Linked DNA regions of Homo sapiens: regions 1 and 3 are each linked to region 2. The links are contacts of gene promoters, found by promoter capture Hi-C in blood cells and fetal thymus (Javierre and others, 2016). All regions are on one chromosome and are shown on one strand. The core of a region is centred on a gene start or on the middle of the fragment in contact, and the rest is flanking DNA. Distances in the headings are between cores, read along the strand shown.

What was found. The method cuts DNA at HindIII sites, captures the fragments that hold promoters and counts their contacts. A CHiCAGO score of 5 or more calls a contact.
Region 1: a contact is called between the fragment with the promoter of NCKAP1 here and the fragment with the promoter of CWC22 in region 2, in 2 of 17 cell types (non-activated CD4 T cells and total CD4 T cells). The highest score is 7.1, in non-activated CD4 T cells.
Region 3: a contact is called between a fragment that was not itself captured here and the fragment with the promoter of CWC22 in region 2, in 3 of 17 cell types (non-activated CD4 T cells, naive CD8 T cells and total CD4 T cells). The highest score is 11.4, in non-activated CD4 T cells.

What each region holds. Positions count from the first base shown.
Region 1 is chr2:183,036,524-183,040,183 of GRCh38, forward strand. NCKAP1 (NCK associated protein 1) reads right to left here and starts at 1,934. Exons shown (of 31, transcript NM_013436.5): 1 at 1,469-1,934. The coding sequence starts at 1,576. RefSeq lists silencers at 1,354-1,473, 1,534-2,123, 1,856-2,507. The HindIII fragment of the contact is 8,317 bases long and covers 1-3,660 here.
Region 2 is chr2:180,005,862-180,009,082 of GRCh38, forward strand. It overlaps CWC22 (CWC22 spliceosome associated protein), which reads right to left and starts at 1,436. Exons shown (of 20, transcript NM_020943.3): 1 at 1,006-1,436. RefSeq lists an enhancer at 584-1,116. The HindIII fragment of the contact is 3,569 bases long and covers 1-2,829 here.
Region 3 is chr2:183,128,269-183,131,921 of GRCh38, forward strand. It overlaps NUP35 (nucleoporin 35), which reads left to right. Exons shown (of 9, transcript NM_138285.5): 2 at 19-189; 3 at 2,150-2,277. Among named protein-coding and RNA genes, the nearest start is that of NUP35, 5.7 kb to the left of the region's middle. The HindIII fragment of the contact is 3,097 bases long and covers 550-3,646 here.

The sequences.
Region 1 (3,660 bases), core at 684-3,183, 3.0 Mb after region 2:
AACCTATATAAATTTATAACCTAGGCTCCTTGGTAAATGCAGAGGGGCTTCTTTGTCATGACACTGAGCTCCTGCCACATAAAAGGTAACAAACTGAGTAAGCATGTTGCAGTTACTCTCCAGATAGCACTGGGTTTAGAGTAATAAAGCCTTGCAATTAGGTGAGCAACCAGACTTTGTCCTTATCCAAAATTTATCATCATTAAACCAGGACACTCTTTAGAATTAGTGTCTACATCAAATTGTAAAAAATAAATCAATTTTACACTCAAACGCTTGGAAATGAATTTCCAAAGAAAAAAAAAAAAACCTTTCTTCAGAAGCCCTCTCAACCTACAATCTATTGCTATGATTAAACTAAACGGTAACATTCACGATATATTAAAAAGCCAACAAATAGTTATGAAGGTATGACATCAAAGACACATTGGAAACTCGATGGATCTAAATTTTCCAAATATCTCTTTTTCTCTTTATCAAATTGTTTAAAACTTACCAACCTTGCCTTAAGGGGAGAGATTTTGTTGTTTTGTCCTACGATAATGAATGTAATTATTTGTTCTATCTTTACATGGACTTTTCTAAACTTCCAGTGGTCTTCCACTCCTTACTGTACTGAGGACATGTAAAAGCCTTTAAATGGGCCTATTAGCTATAGTTGCTCAAATTATCAGACTATGCTATAAATCAGCAGCAATTGCAACATTTTTACGGTTTTTATTTTGTACAGACACCGAACTTTAAGAAATGGTATTGGAAAATCTAACATGAGGAGGAGTACAGGGGAAAGAGTAGAAGGTTGTTATTCCAGTTCTAGTGACTCACAGCCTAGAAGTATTTCAGAAAATTGGTTCCACCCTCACTTCCCCCTCCTCTCCACCTTCAAAATGAAATAATCCCAAATCGTCAACACACTCTCAATGGCTTTTTATTTAGCAATCTAAAATAAAGTGGCAAAGTGGAGGGGATACGGGATTCATCCAATCAGCCCTTCTCTACCCACATTCCCACACCAAAAAATGGGGATGTGGGGTGTAATCCCTGTTCACTGCTGCCATCTCCGTAAGAATATGGAACACTCAAGTTTTCCTACCCACCTAGAATTTCGCCCACCCACCACCCTCCCTTTCCTATGGGCCCCATCATGGGGGCGGGGGCGCCGAGGAGGGGACAGCTCCCGGCTCCCAGCGGCGCCCCCACCCCGTGCGAGGCCCAGCGCCCGATCCCGCCGCCGGGAGCCGGGAAATGGCTTCTCTGCCTTCGGCCGGCCGGCGAACCACAGGGAGAGGCGCCCGGGACTCCGCATTAGGCCGCGGCGCATCCAGGCGACCCCGGGCCGGGCCTCGGGCGGCGACGCCGAGATTTCTACACCCGGCGCCTCCTGCCGCCCCCACCCCACGGCCTCCCTTGCCCTTCATCCCTCCCGGGCCCGCCCGCCTCCGCCGCGGCCTCCCCGGCCCGTGCGCACCTTCTTGATGTTGTAGAGGCGGGTGAGCATGCCGACGCCCCGGTCGTTGAGGATGGTGAGCTTCTCCGCCAGCTTCTGCTGACTGGGCTGCAGCACTGAGCGCGACATGGTGGTGCTGGTGCCGCCGCCGCCGCCGGCCGCCTCGCGCCCAGTCACGGGCCCGCGGCCTTCGCAGCAGCCTCTCTCGGGCCTCCTCCCCTCCCGCCCGCGACCTCCGCCTTAGGAGAGCGCGCCCATGGCCCTCGCGCCCCAATCCCGCGCCGGCGACAGAGCGAGCCGCGGCGGACTCCTCGGAGCCCCTTCTCCCGCAGCAGCCCGCGCCCCGGCAGCCTCCTGCCTTCCGCCCGCCGCCCTTCCGCCCCCACCCCCGGCGCTCTCCGCCCCAGCCCCCAACGAGCCGCCTTCCCCGGCTGCTCCACTAGGTGTGGCGGCGGCGGCGGCGGCGGCGGCGTCTCCGGCGGCTGAGAACGAGGCCGCTTCCCGCAGCCCCGGACGGGCCCTCGGTCACCTGATCGGCAGCGCCGGCGCCCCCGCGAGGCCGGACGGGGAACTGCGGCCGACGGGCCCTCGGCATGGCCTCGCCGCCGCCGCTCTGGCCCTGGCCCTGGCCCGGACCGCCCACTACGCCTGATGCCGGGATGGGAGTCCCAAGCGGGGACTGAGTGGGGTCGCGTTGTGTGCTCTTTCCACTTCGCCCCACACCCCACTCCTTCAAGTTCCCAAAAGTTGCTTTTCCGCACCACCCTTCTAAAGAAACCGGCAGAAACTCTGCTGGGAGGCGGGGTGTTTTCCAGGCGAGTTTCGCTTAAGAGTGGGCTGGTGGCTCCAAGCGCTTTTTCCTCCCACTGCTTGACAGGCGCTCGCCGCAGAACACAGCAGATGTTGTGCTCCGCGAGGTGGGGATCGCCTCTGCCAGCCTCCCCAGCCCATCCTCAGTCTCCCCGCCTGGAACCAGTTTGTGAGAGAGGAGGTCGGAAGTGAGGGTAACTCAAGTCCTTGAGATAATCACAATCTAGACTTTGTCGGCGAGGAGCACCCATCCGGAGGAGACGCAGTAGGTCCTGGCATGTGGAAGGCAAAAAATAAATGTTTGTTCAATGCCTAAAGGAACCGCTCCCATTTTTTTACAGCCTCCACCCTAAATCCCACTTCTTCTTGGAAACATTCTTCTTTGCCATCTCATTTTTCCTGATCAATTTCTTCTTAGCGACACTCCAAGGCTACTCCCTTGTCAAATGTATTAGACATGATTCCAAAAGTGAACTAACTGAGGACTTACGTAATTGAGGTGAGAAACTTCAGCCAAGAGGACTCAGGCCTCTAATATTTTTGGCTTTGCCTTTTCTCGATATGTTAATTTTTTATATTATATTCATTAATTTTAAGTCAGTAACAAAATGTCCCGCCACATTCAATAAGACATTCTAAGAGTAATAAGCCATCACTGGATTTATCAAAACTCTTTAAGAAAAGGAAATTGTAATGAATAGCTTTAAAATATTTTTTAAAGCTACTATATCTACTATTCGTAAAGAAATCTTCATTTTAATATTCCAACAAGAAAGAAGGAGTGGACTGAATGGATTTAATCTAAGGGGCATTTAAAAGAGTCCTGTTCCCACCAAAAGAAGTCATAATCATACCTGCCAGTGTGCCTGAAATTCTATATACAAAGCTGCAGTACCTTGAATGAATGCTTTGTACCTAGAGAGTCTTAAGAATACAAACACTTCAGAGAGATCATCTGTCGAGCTATTACTAGTCATTAACTGGTCAAGGAATTTAATTTATCTGGTTACTTCTCAGCCTGATAGTTAACATTTTAATTTAGAGGAGGCAAGGTTGTGGGGCCTGGAATAGTAAGGGCAGACCTGAGAAGGGGAGGCTGCGAGGAGGGGTTTGGGGTAGCCAGATAAGAAAATTTAAAAATGTTGAACATTGGGGAAATATGTGCTCCTTTAGGGAGACTACAAATAACTAAGTCTAGACGCAGAATTACAGAGTGCTACCAATAAAAGATTGTCTCATTTTCTAGTTTTTAAAAACTGCTGTATAGGGAGAACAAGAAAATGGCACTGTATTATAAATTTGAACACAACTCTTACTCCCCAAGAAAAACTATCATGTTGCCATATAAACTTGAATACTAGTAGCTGCTTATAACTCAGGAAGTACCCAATAGGAGAACGCTG
Region 2 (3,221 bases), core at 186-2,685:
CCAAGTGACAGACCTAATAATAGCTGGATAAAACAGAAATCTTTGGTCTACTAGTCCATCACCCAGGACCAACACAAGTGGCTTTCCTCCACCTACTGATAACGCCTGTAACAATGCTTCTCCTCTCCTGGTCAAAACCACACTTTTAATGTCAATTTTAAATCTGCCCTTCCATAGTAGGATGATAATTTATGTTAACTCCTGAATTCACAAGCAATCCTAAAACAAGGTAAGTCTAAATACAGATAAGAGGTAGGTTAACTGATCTGCTGAGAACCAAGTTTGCTTGCTTATCTGCTATTTCGAGTCTCTGCACATCTAAAAATGCAAAGGAAACTCTTACCTAATTCTTGCATCTAGAATAGCCTTTCTCCAAATCCTGCCTTCTCCACTTACCTCAGAAGAATTGTTAGGATTAAATGGAAATAGGTACCGTGGTTTTTGCAGTTAAACTCAGTGAAATTAACTATTATATTTCCGTTATATAATGCTGTGTTGTAGGACCCAGAGCTCGTTAGAGAGGTGGAGCCTGGAGACCCAAGTTTGGCAGTTATTACCTCACTGGAGATAGTTCAAGTTATGGAAGGATCAAGAATGACAGATGAAGCGGGCACATGAGAAGCGAAGTGTCTTCAAGACTAAACACTAGACACTATCAGTATTTACAGGGCAAATAAATGAAAAAGAAGACGCTAATGAAATTTAAAACAAATAGTCAAAGGGATATAATGCCGGCAAGAGGCATAAGAGTGCAAGTAATTCAACTAACTTTTAATCAACTAGATCTCATTAATCCCACTCCCCTGACCCTGGGACCCGGGCACTAGGAAAGGGGCTTTGGCAAGCCCCAATGGACTCCAGAGGCTCTAAGTATAAAACGCAGTGCACAAGAAACAACACAGCACCAGCGTTGGTGCAGGATTTCAGACAGCTCCAGGAACTTCACAAGGAAGGTCAGCCGGTCCGCTCAGGCAGTCAGTTCATGGCAGCCCATTCCCTCCCCACCTGCTTGGACCTAGCCGCTCTCACACCCCTCTTGCGGGCCCGAGCGTAGCGAGAAGACCCACGCACACTCCAATGCCGCTCACAGCCGTATCAGTGAGCCCGCACCCACTCCTGGGGGTCTTTTACTTCCCACCCGATCCGGCGACCCGCCACCCCCACTCCGCGTCTCTGCCTGCGGGGACTCCACGGAGTTCGATAATTACCTAGAGCTCCACCGCGCCGCCATTACACCGGACGTACGTCACTTCCTCTTCCCGAGCACCGACGGTAGGAAGAAGGCGAATAGTGAAATATTTAAAAACTTGACGCTCAATTGGCTTGACACGTTATCCCTTTAATTTATTTCAAATACCATATCATAATACCAGAGTCAAAGTAGTCGATCCAGGCACACTGTCTTGTTGCCAAAATGGCGACAAAAAAGAGAAGTTGGCATGAACTACAAAGTCCGAAATCCAGCGCCTGTGCTGACGGAAATGAGGAAAGCATAATTGTAGTTTAGCGTGAAATGGCGCGGTGTACGATGGGAATTGTAGTTCATACAGATGCGCGCCAGCGAGTTAACATCCACGCTGCTCACTGGCAGCCTAGTAGTGTTCAGGGTCTAGCCGAATTTACTTTAAAACTATTTCACTGCATTTTGGGGAAATTTTTTTTAAAAAAGCAGTCAGTTGTCACTTTCCTTGAAAAATCTTAAGAGAGAGATTTTCCTGAGACTTTATAAGAGTTTGACCAACAGTTAAGTGCCTAATAAATTCCAAGATATCCAGGCCATAAGAATGGGAGAATATTAAATCATAAATAGAGTGAAATAATGAGGAAAAACTAATTCTATAGAGACTGTGTTGCCTCTCTTTTAGGTTAAGGTACCAACTGGTATGACCTGAGAATAAAGAGATTGCCTGGCTGAGTAGGAAGTAGCAGTTTGTACAGCGTGCAGAACTAGGGCATCAAACAGTTTCTTTAAACTTCACTTTTCACTAGTAACAAAACCTAAAAGTTCAACTACTTGCTATTTTGGAAACTCTCTTCCTAAACCAAGAATATCTTTATGTTATCAAATCTTTCATAAACCAGGACTGGTTTCTCCACACACTTCTCTATTACAGTTTTAGGGTGCTGTGCTTCCACTCCTTTCTGGAGGCAGAGTGTGATGATTAAGAATAAAAACACTGCAGTTGGACTACTTATTTTGAATCTTGAGTCCTTTTATTATTTATGGATGACTGGGGCAAGTAACTTCACATTCTGTGGCCGTTTCCTGATCTGTTAAATGGAAATACCAATAGTATCCATCCAGGCAGTAGTTTTAAGAATTGAATTAGTTGATACACAAGATGCATTTAAGATAATTGCTAGTATACAATAGTGTTATCTATTTTATTTCATATTTAAGATATTTGGCCATTGTTGATGGTGCATTTTGGTGCACCAATACAGGGCACAGGAGATGGATCTGGAGATGAACATTTGTATTCATATATTTAAAAACCCACAATACTACCGGTGATGGTTAATTCTGAATGTCAACTTGATTGGATTGAAGGATGCAAAGTATTGATCCTGGGTGTATCTGTGAGGGTGTTGCCAAAGGAGATTAACAGTTGAGTCAGTGGACTGGGGAAGACAGACTCACCCTTAATCTGGTGGGAACAATCTAATCAGCTACCATCGAATATAAAGCAGGCAGAAAAATATGAAAAGGCAAGACTGGCCTAGCCTCCCAGCCTATATCTTTCTCCCATGCTGGATGCTTCCTGCCCTCAAACATTGGACTCCAAATTCTTCAGTTGTGAGACTCAGACTGGCTCTCCTTGCTCCTCAAGCTTGCAGACAGCCTATTGTGGGACCTTGTGATTGTGTAAGTTAATACTTAATAAACTCCCCTTTTTATATATATATCCTTATATATAGATATATATATTAGGATATATATATAAGGATATATATAAAAAATAGGATATATATGTAATAGGATATATATACGTGTGTGTGTGCGTGTGTGTGTATCTATCTATCTATCTATCTATCTATCTATCTATCTATCTATATCCTATTAGTTCTGTCCCTCTAGGGAACCCTGATGAATATACTACCTCTACAACTATCAACAGAAATAGGAAAGTTAGGGTTGAGCAGAGGAGAACTAGATGGAGCTGGAAAAGAATTGGATTTGTCAGTTGGGTCCTTCAGGAAGCAGACACTGAGAAAGAGTT
Region 3 (3,653 bases), core at 848-3,347, 3.1 Mb after region 2:
ATTTTTTGATTCATGTAGGATCTGAACCAATGATGCTGGGTTCACCCACATCTCCAAAGCCAGGAGTTAATGCCCAGTTCTTACCTGGATTTTTAATGGGGGATTTGCCAGCTCCGGTGACTCCACAACCTCGATCAATTAGTGGCCCTTCAGTAGGAGTAATGGAAATGAGATCACCTTTACTTGCAGGTAGGTGAATTGCTTAAAATAATTTTATAGACATGCTAGATACAGGGATGTCCAATTTTTTGGCTTCCCTGAACCACATTGGAAGAAGAATTGACTTGGGCCACACATAAAATACAGTAACTCTAATAATAGCTGATGAGCTAAAAAAAAAAAAAAATGCAAAAAAAATCTTAAAATGTTTTAAGAAAGTTTACCAATTTGTGTTGGGCAACATTCAAAGCCATCCTGGGCTTCATGCGGTGTTCAAGCCATGGGTGGGACAAGCTTGTGCTAGAATTTTTAAAAGTGTAGTGGTGCAGCATTCACCCTCATCAATACATTAATTAAAAAAAATTAAGCAATGTGTCTATTATAAAGCAAAGCTTTTAAGGCTCTTGGAATAGAGGTGTAAGAAGTATAAGCTATAATTTCTAGAGCCACTAAAATGTATTCTATGTTTTTTTCATTCTAAGATGCCTTTGAATTGGCTTTTAAGTACCACTAGGAAAGATAACCCTAAATATGACACAATGCTAAGATGCCATTTTTTGTAAAATTTCTGTGTCGGAGATGTCAGAGTGTGGTGGGGGAAGAGTGCCTCACAGAGTTGATGAAATACCATCATTTAGCTTCAACTGAATTCATTTAAAGTAATTCATCTTAAGATACAAGAATAGGAAATAATCGGTCAAAAGAAGTGTAACTTGAAGATGTAGATACGAATTCTGCCTTTAGTCTTAGTGAATTGAGATTCTCACATATAGCGTGTTTAAGGAAACTTGGGGGGGAGGTTTTATACACAGAATTTGTGATTGTCAGGGCAAAGTATTGTAAATGCAGCCTGTGTTTATTACAGAACTCCTTTAGCAAAGAAATACTTTAAAAAATGACTTCGAAGTTTTAACTGAGTAGTGAGAATTAGATACAGAAGTGTTGAATTCTAATTGTGAGCTAATATCCTTTAGTAGTAGTTCAAGTGAAAACTCTTTTTACCTTAATTGCCCTTTAAAGTATTTTTGCTTTAAAATGGTTTATTATTTAGGATTTATCAGGGAGAATTATAAATTATATTTGAAGTAATTCATTTAACATTAAACATTAAATTTCAAATGTGTTATTTTATTATGGTAGCCAACGTATATTGATTGCTTATGAGCCTGGCAGTATGCTAATCATTATTTTGTCAATCTTAAAGGGTAGGTAATAGTATCCCCATCTTTAAAAAGAGAAAACTGAGGCTAAATGCAATAAGTAATTTGCTGAAGCTCACTTGCTAGTAAGTGAGCGAGCGCTATAAACCTCAGGTTAGTCTTATTCCATAGACTGTGCTCTAAATAGCTTAAGCTGTACAGTCCAGGCTCAGACATTAGTCTTACCGATGGCCTGGGCTGCATCACTATTTGACATTGCATGTTCTCTGATCGATAAAGACATCTTTATGTCACAGAACTTGGTCCTTTTACTACATCTTTATTATGTACTTAAATATATTTCTACTGTGAGAAACATGAATGGGATCTACTTAATCTAGATAGTCAAACTCTACATAGGGAATTGTATTTATTCAGGAATCTACAGACTGGAGCTGTTTAGTACCTACTTTCAAGTGAGAAATGGGATCAAGTTTTGTATTTAAATGTTAAGCGTTTTGTAGAGTGAGCAAAAGTTACATGTGTTTTCTGAAAACTAAGATTTTCATTAACTACTTACTCTGAATCCTTTTATTCAGAGTGCAGTCTATGGATCAGCAGCATTGGCATTACCTGGGAGCTTATTAGAACTGTATAATCTCAGGCTTCACCCTACACCTTCTGAATCAGAGTCTGAATTTTAACAAGGTCCCCAGGTGACTGTTCAGCATATTAAAGTTTGAAAAGAACTAACAGACAAGATTTTAAGTCAGTATTTCAAAAATATAAATTTAAAAAATCTTACCAAAAAGAAGAATCCCTTTTTTTTTTTTTTTTTTTGTACACTGTAGGTGGGTCACCACCACAACCAGTTGTACCAGCTCATAAAGATAAAAGTGGCGCTCCACCAGTTAGAAGTATATATGATGACATTTCTAGCCCAGGACTTGGATCAACACCTTTAACTTCAAGAAGACAGGTAATATAAATACCCTTTTGATCCCCAATGAACAACATCATGGTTTTATGTGTCTGTTCAGTGAGAGTCAATACTTTGAAATGTTTCCCTGAAGTCTGTTTTAATGTAACTGTGTTGCACAGAATAAACATTAAACACATCATAGAATCTACTTAAATTGTGTTGATGATGAACTGTACTTAACAGTGTAGAACTCTAGATTTTCTCTCATAGGTAATTCTCAGGTGTTTATAGGTATGCCTTATCCACCTGCCCATAGCTCCAACCTACTTAATATACATGTAGAATGTGACTATGGTTTAAATCATTCTGATTGTTTAAGAAGTTTAATATTTAATATTTAAAAATTATGTGAAAGAACAAATGAAAATTTAGAGTTTCATCTAGATCTAGGGCACTCGTCAGCTGAGAAGTAGTATGGACTTGTCTTTATTTTCTTCTTTTTTTAGGGTCCCCAACAGGGTCCTGATCAGTTGCCCAGGCTAGAGTGCAGCGGCACAGTCATAACTCTGCAGCCTTGAACTCCTGGGTTCAACCAATCCTCCTGCCTCAACTGTCCTATTGGGATATAGGCACGTGCTGCTATGCCTGGCTAATTGTATTTTTTTTTGTAGAGATGAGGTCTTGCCGGATTCAGGTGATCCTTGCACCTTGACCTCTCAAAGCGCTAGATTATAAATGTGAGCCACTGTGCCTGGCCGACTTTTCTTTTAAGTAGAAAATTTAGTAGCTTCATAGACACAAGTGTTGTTTCCTATTATTATTGTGCTTAGTAGGACATATAAACAAAGTTTATCAGTTAAGTTGGTAAGTTCTTTATATAAAGATATGTCTGCTGTTTGCTTTAGATATATGTTTTATGCCTTTCCCTAAATTGTATTTAGTGAAGTTGAGAGTTCAAGAATATTAGAAAGCATTTTTCAGTGGATTCGTGCTATTTATAGGCTTGATATGTCTGGCATACTAGGCTTACTTGTCAAGTAAAGCAAAATTCATTCACTGTGGTAAACAGATTACTGTTTCTTCCCAACACTTCTAGACCTGCCTTCCTGTCCAACAGGAGCCACTAGCTAAGTGTGGCTATTGATACTAAAGATATAGCTAGTCTTTATTGAGATACACTTTAAGTATAAAATACACACCAGAGTTTGAAGACTTAGAAAGAATGTAAGGTATCTTATTTTTTTATGTTGATTACATATTGAAATGATAATGTTTTGGATGTGTTTGGCTAAATATTACTAAATTTCACCTGTTTGTACTTTTAAAATGTGCCTACTAGAAATGGTAAAATTACACGTATGGAATTTATTGTTCCTAATGGATAGATATCCTGGTCTGGGATGGTTTTCTAAAGGTTGATAAGTAAAGCTTAT